Linked DNA regions of Homo sapiens: region 1 is linked to region 2. Evidence: promoter capture Hi-C in human tissues and cell types (Jung and others, 2019). All regions are on one chromosome and are shown on one strand. Each heading gives the region's core, a stretch centred on a gene start or on the middle of the fragment in contact. The rest is flanking DNA. Distances are from core to core; before and after follow the strand shown.

What was found. Contacts are between HindIII fragments. The study calls those that stand out against the background at their distance.
Region 1: a contact is called between a fragment that was not itself captured here and the fragment with the promoter of CCDC122 in region 2, in 2 of the 25 tissues and cell types used here (dorsolateral prefrontal cortex and lymphoblastoid cells).

The regions. Positions count from the first base shown.
Region 1 is chr13:42,863,520-42,866,460 of GRCh38, reverse strand. All of the region lies in intron 2 of LINC00428 (long intergenic non-protein coding RNA 428), which reads left to right. Among named protein-coding and RNA genes, the nearest start is that of LINC00428, 7.8 kb to the left of the region's middle. The HindIII fragment of the contact is 5,174 bases long and covers 1-2,941 here.
Region 2 is chr13:43,878,174-43,881,092 of GRCh38, reverse strand. It overlaps CCDC122 (coiled-coil domain containing 122), which reads left to right and starts at 1,353. Exons shown (of 7, transcript NM_144974.5): 1 at 1,353-1,462. It overlaps LACC1 (laccase domain containing 1), which reads right to left and starts at 1,189. Exons shown (of 7, transcript NM_153218.4): 1 at 974-1,189; 2 at 1-141. The coding sequence starts at 107. RefSeq lists a silencer at 1,302-1,451. The HindIII fragment of the contact is 6,836 bases long and covers 1-2,919 here.

The DNA.
Region 1 (2,941 bases), core at 274-2,773, 1.0 Mb after region 2:
CTGGTCTAAGTCCAAGAGTCCAAAAGCTGAAGAGCTTGGAGTCTGATGTTCAAGAGCAGGAAGGATTCAGCAAGAGAGAAAGATGGAAGGCCAGAAGACTCAGTAAGTCTGCTCTTTCTACCTTTTTCAGCCTGCTTTATTCTAGCAGCTGATTAGATGGTGCCCACCCAGACTGCAGGTGGGTCTGCCTCTCCCAGTCCACTGACTCAAATGTTAATCTCCTTTGACAACACCCTCCCAGACACACCCAGGAACAATACCTTGCATCTTTCAATTCAATCAAGTTGACACTCAATCTTAACCATCACAGCCTATGATTCAGCCTCAACAGAGAGCAACCACATGGCCAGCTCTAGACAAAGTGGGGGCCAGACCTTTATATCTCCTTATAAACCAGTTCTTGGCTGTGGGCACCCTGGGAAGAGGGCATGGTGGTGGGTGAGATGACACTCTTCATTTGAAGCAATTCCGATGAGGGCTGACAGCTGGGGATCTCTGCCAGAAGCCCTCGCTGCAGCTGGTGGAGTAGCCCTTCAGTCTTGAGGAGACTCTGGGATGACATCACAGCATCTGCTCCAGAAGTCTGCTGAACCCATCCTGGCTAACTGTAATGCAACTATTAACCATAATACTTTCCTTTAAAAATCTCAGACAAATGCTGAAAGAGATAAGATACTGAGACAGGAAGTGTAAGCTGGGACTGTCCTAAGCGAATCAGGAAAAAGTTATCCTGTCTATAATGAAGTTCAGGGAGAAAGAACAGCTTACATTAACAGCCTTGAAGGTAAGTTGCTGGTCCAGAAACCTTTTGAGTTAATTTACTTGGTTTCACTTGGGTTTCACCCAGATGCAAAAGGATTTAAGTCGATTATTTAATCCATTATTTTCTGTGGTGTAGCATGGCAGTGCTTTTGCATGTTGCAGCGTTTTCTTTCATTTTCAGCAGCCCCTCCTCTCCATTTAATCACTGTGTCTGCTGCCCTGTCCTAATCGCTCAGCAGACACCCCCCTGGCATCCCAGACACTCTGGCTGCGTGTCCCGTGCATGATTATTTGGCCCTCACCCTGTACTCCACTTCACACTCCCTTAGGCTATGAGCAGAGGATTTTTGTCACAATTGTAAAACATAGAAACTCATCTCCACCAATCCTTTCAAAGAGCCCAGGGAGTCTGAGCTGTTCCAAATGAGAAGCTTCTGCTACAAGAGCATGGCCAGAGACTCTGGCTACCAGAGGGAGGCTGGTGCATTTCATTTCATTGTGAACTCCAACCAGGGTGTCTCGAAGGTTAAAATACCTTTACTTAGCGCTCAATCACTGTCGCACCTGGTACACAGTGCTGTAAAATTAGGAGGGAAGAAGAGAGCAGGAGAAGCCCTGGATTCAACATCAGGAGACCTGGGGTCCAGCCCTTCCCAGCCTCTGGCACTCAGGTTCTCCATGGATCAGGTCTTATTCAGGTTATCATTCCCACCGCCTAGGAAAGTGTCTGGTTGAGTGGGTGCTAAGAAAAAATGTTTTCCTTTCTCCCTGGACATAGCTTGCATAAGGAATGAAGACAATGAGTGTGTGTAGGGGGAAAACGCTAAGGAGCTAGAAAAGTTTTTCATTCCATGGTGCAGTGTTCCTTTCTCTAGCCCCACCACCGAAAGCACAAGACCCTTTCCCTGACTTTATATCTTACCACACAGTTCAGCAACCCAGTGAAAAGATCCTTATTAAAATTTTATTTATTAATTTTTTTTAAGAATAGAGACAGGATCTCACTATATTGCCCAGGTTGGTCTTAAACTCTTAGCCTCAAGTGATCGTCCCACCTCGGCTTCCCAAAGTGCTGGGATTACAGGTGTGAGGCCACTGAGCCTGGCCAAGTGAAAAGATCTTAACGCTCCCAACATCACATAACTCTCCTGGGAGATGGTGGTGGGAGGATTTTATATGGACTTGTTTGGATATGTGTTCACCCTTGGACCAAACCTTATGTCCAGGATTGCAGAGTACTGTGATTAGGCAGACCTAAATACTGTACTGTTTTTTTTTTTTTTTTTTTTTTTTGAGACGGAGTCTCGCTCTCTCTCCCAGTCTGGAGTGCAGTGGTGCGATCTCGGCTCACTGCAAGCTCTGCCTCCCGGGTTCACGCCATTCTCCTGCCTCAGCCTCCCGAGTAGCTGGGACTACAGGCACCGGCCACCACGCCCAGCTAATTTTTTGTATTTTTAGTAGAGACCAGGTTTCACCGTGTTAGCCAGGATGGTCTCGGTCTCCCGACCTCGTGATCCACCTGCCTCCGCCTCCCAAAGTGCTGGGATTACAGGCATGAGCCACCGCGCCCGGCTGATACTGCAGTTTTTTTTGTTGTTGTTTTGTTTTTTCTTTACTATTCTCTACTTCTTGCTATATTCTGTTGAATACATGTCGAATTTTTTCTTCTATTCTTCCCCTTCCTTAATCCCCCTTGCCTATTTCATATTTCTTTGTATTGGATTGTACTGCATTTTGTGTTACTTCCTCAAATATATCTTGTAGTTTACTAATTCTCTCTAGAGCTGGTTTTCATTTGCTACTTAACCTACTCATTGAGTTTTTACATTTTAATAAAGTTTTAATGTTAATTACCTACAGTCACGTGTTTTGTTTTTATTTTTGACTTGCCTCTCCTTTATTCATAGCCCAGCTCTTTCATTTTAGTTTCCGTACTTATTTTATAATCTCTTTCGATTGTTTTATCAGCTACTTTGGAAATCAGTGTTGCGCCTCCTGATTGATGTGTCTGCTGATTTTCCTTCAGGTGGTTTCATTTCTTGTGTTGTTTGTAGTTTTTACTGTTAGCTCCTGCTAAACTGGGGTTGTTTTTCTATGTAAATCATGCCCCCGCCATGGCTCAATTTTGCATTTACTTTTGCAAGTAAAATTTAGGGTTTCACTACTGTAGGAGCAGTTT
Region 2 (2,919 bases), core at 104-2,603:
GCATGGTGGTATTGGACAGCATTCAAAGTCTTCAGTAATGTCTGATGGCAGTTTTTTTGAGAGTTCAATTTCAAACCAAAAAGATCAATCAAAACAGCTTCTGCCATCCTTGAAAGAATACTTTTATGCCAAATAAATCACCTGCAAATAAAAATTAGTGTAAGAATATAAGATTATATAAATCTTATAGTTACAACAGAAATTTGTGGTAGATTAAAAACGAAGTAATTACACTGATTTTAAAATGTAACTAAAATAGTAAATCTAGGCCCCTCCCAGAAAAGCCAGTCTACTCTGTCACAACAGAACCATGACAGTGAAAGCAAAGCCATCTTTTAATTCGTTTTGTGAAAATGCTGGTACATCTTTCCAGCAGCACGACAGTTCCTCTGTTTTGTTTACACAGAACTTTTGAGTAAGGAATTACTTGTGGAGTTTAGACAAAGTCCTGTTTTTAAATTGCAGAGTGTCAACCTGTGTGATATATCATTAGTCCTGACATGATTGTCATATTAGGTCTCATCCTTTCATATGCGGGGGCTTAAGTTTACGAAGCTAAATGGAGCTGCACGCGAAATTCGCGTTTTAAGATGATAAAAGCTGAGATGGCTAATAGAGTTCCCTTCAGGATTTGCGCAGTACTCCACACTTAGCAATGACCACAAAAGCTATAGTGATTTGGATGAGACAGGCTTCCTCTCAACTTTCTTAATTCATTCTCCCCGTGCAGCTTTGCTCACCTCCAGCCCAGCCCTCCCACCCCAACCTGCGGGGCTCCGGTGACCCCCTTTGGTGACGCCCTTTGCCCCAAGAAGGTTTTCTCCTGCCGCTTCCCCTAACCTTTGCTCCCCATCTCTCGGGGCTCCCTCTGAGGTTCATTTAGCCAGTTTTGAGTGGGTGACCGTCCCCCCTTCCCTGTTCATTGTGAATTTCCGCCCAACGTGTGTCGCCGCCAGGTCCCTGTTCCTCCTACCCGCCTCGGCTCACGGGGCGCAGGCTGTGGCTCTGCACCTGCCCGGGCACCTCCACCGGCGGCTCACAGCCCATTCGGGACTTCCTGTCGGACAACGCACACCAGAGGCGATTCGGTCCTCGCCTTCCCGCTCTTCACCTTCGGTTGCACACCGGTCTACGGCGACCTCTGTGACAATTTGCCGCCCCGTCCCTCGTCCTGAGCCTCAACGAAATTGGGCAGCCGCGAGCGGGTCAGCTGGAGTCGTAAGCTCGGCCCAGCGCGACGACACCCGCCCCGCCTCACCTCGCCCACCTCGCCCACCTCGCCCCGCCTCGCCTCGCCCCGCCTCGCCCCGCCTCACCTCGCCCCCCTCGCCCACCTCGCCCCGCCTCACCTCACCTACCTCGCCGCGGCCGCACAGATTCCCCGCCTGATACCGTCCCAGGATCCCAGGGGAAACCTGACGGCCAGGTTCCCTCGTGCCAGCTGCCGGGAGGCGGGAGGGAGGTAGGCCAGGGCCGCCTGGCGTGCTTGGTGCGAACGCGGCGGGCCCAGCGCGAGAGCTGGGGAATCCCGGGATGAGCCAAGCGCCGCGAGCCCGCTGCTGCCTCAGCAGTTCCGGGTCTGGGCGGTCCGCGGAGTCGGCATCCCGCAGCCCCGGCGGCGTTAGAGGAACAGGAACCAGAGCCGCGCGAGGGCTCTCGCCCGGGAGCCAGGCGGGTTAGCGGGCAGGAGTGGGCAGGCCGAGTCCGGAAAGGGTCGCGAGGAGGCAGCTAGGGGCCCCTTGAGGAGGGATAGGGCGGCGGAACGACGGGCCCTGGGAGCGGGCGCAGGGCGGCAGGAGCTGCAGGTCTCCAGAGGGCACGGGGCGGGGAACTAGGGGCCCGGTTAGAAAGCCGGGCGGCGGGAACGGCGGGCACCGTGAGGGGGCGGCGGGAATGGTGGGTCGCGTGAGGCCGGGCTGCTGGAGCGACCTCGGGACTAAACCGCAGTCTCCCTTCTGCTAATGGAAGCCGTTTCCCAAGCGAGCTGAAGTCCGCGTTTCCGGTCTCTGAGGGACGCCTCGCTGACCCAGCAGTGTGGTCAGGACGCTGGGTTTCCTCACCGCAGCCCAGGGCCAGTCCCTTGTCATGCTAGCTCTTGGCAGCTTTTCCCATGCAGGGCTCAAGTCAGGGGCCCCCTCGAGATGTTTTAGTGTTTTTTTGTTGTTCATTTGTTTCCAGAAACAAGCTGTTGTCTCTCCTCCAATGTCTTTGTGCTGATTCTTGCTGACCAACACTCTTCCGAGCGCCTTCACTTGTGTTGACAACACGGATGTCCTCTATGGCCTTTTAAAATATGTGCCACTAGCAGGACTTAAGTAAAAGGCGCTCATCCCTAAAATCATGATAAAGGTGCAGTTTAGCATCCCTGATCTGTCCTCCAAGAATATAACGTTCATTTATTTGAAAATAGCAGTTAGGACATGGAAGGCCAGTGTATGGTAAAGGGAAAAAATATCCGACCTTCCAAGAGTAAGAGAAATGGTGCTTCCTGGGGAACTGGTTATGATGGAAGGAGAGGTCCCTTTTATCTTCATTGTTGCTCATTTGGTAGGCGCTAAAGAACCTTTGTCTCATAATCTCAGATAGCTGGGAATTTGGAAGAGCCCTCTGGGGTAGGCATGTTCTTGTGCTTGACTAGAGACTGGGAGCACTAACCCAGAATGGAAACCCACCCTTCAATAACCCTAGCACCAGTTATGTCAAAATTCATGTTTTCTTTGGTCATTTGTTAAAGAGCCCCGAGCGGTAGATGGTACACCCAATCAGAAGGTGCACTCTGCCCTGAGTTTGTTTATGTTAAATATCATTAGATTGGTGCAAAGGTAATTGCGGTTTTTGCCATTGACAAAGACCACAATTACTTTTGCACCAGCTTAATACCTCAAGCAAAACAGAGGTCTTTTAGTTACAAAGGTTTTA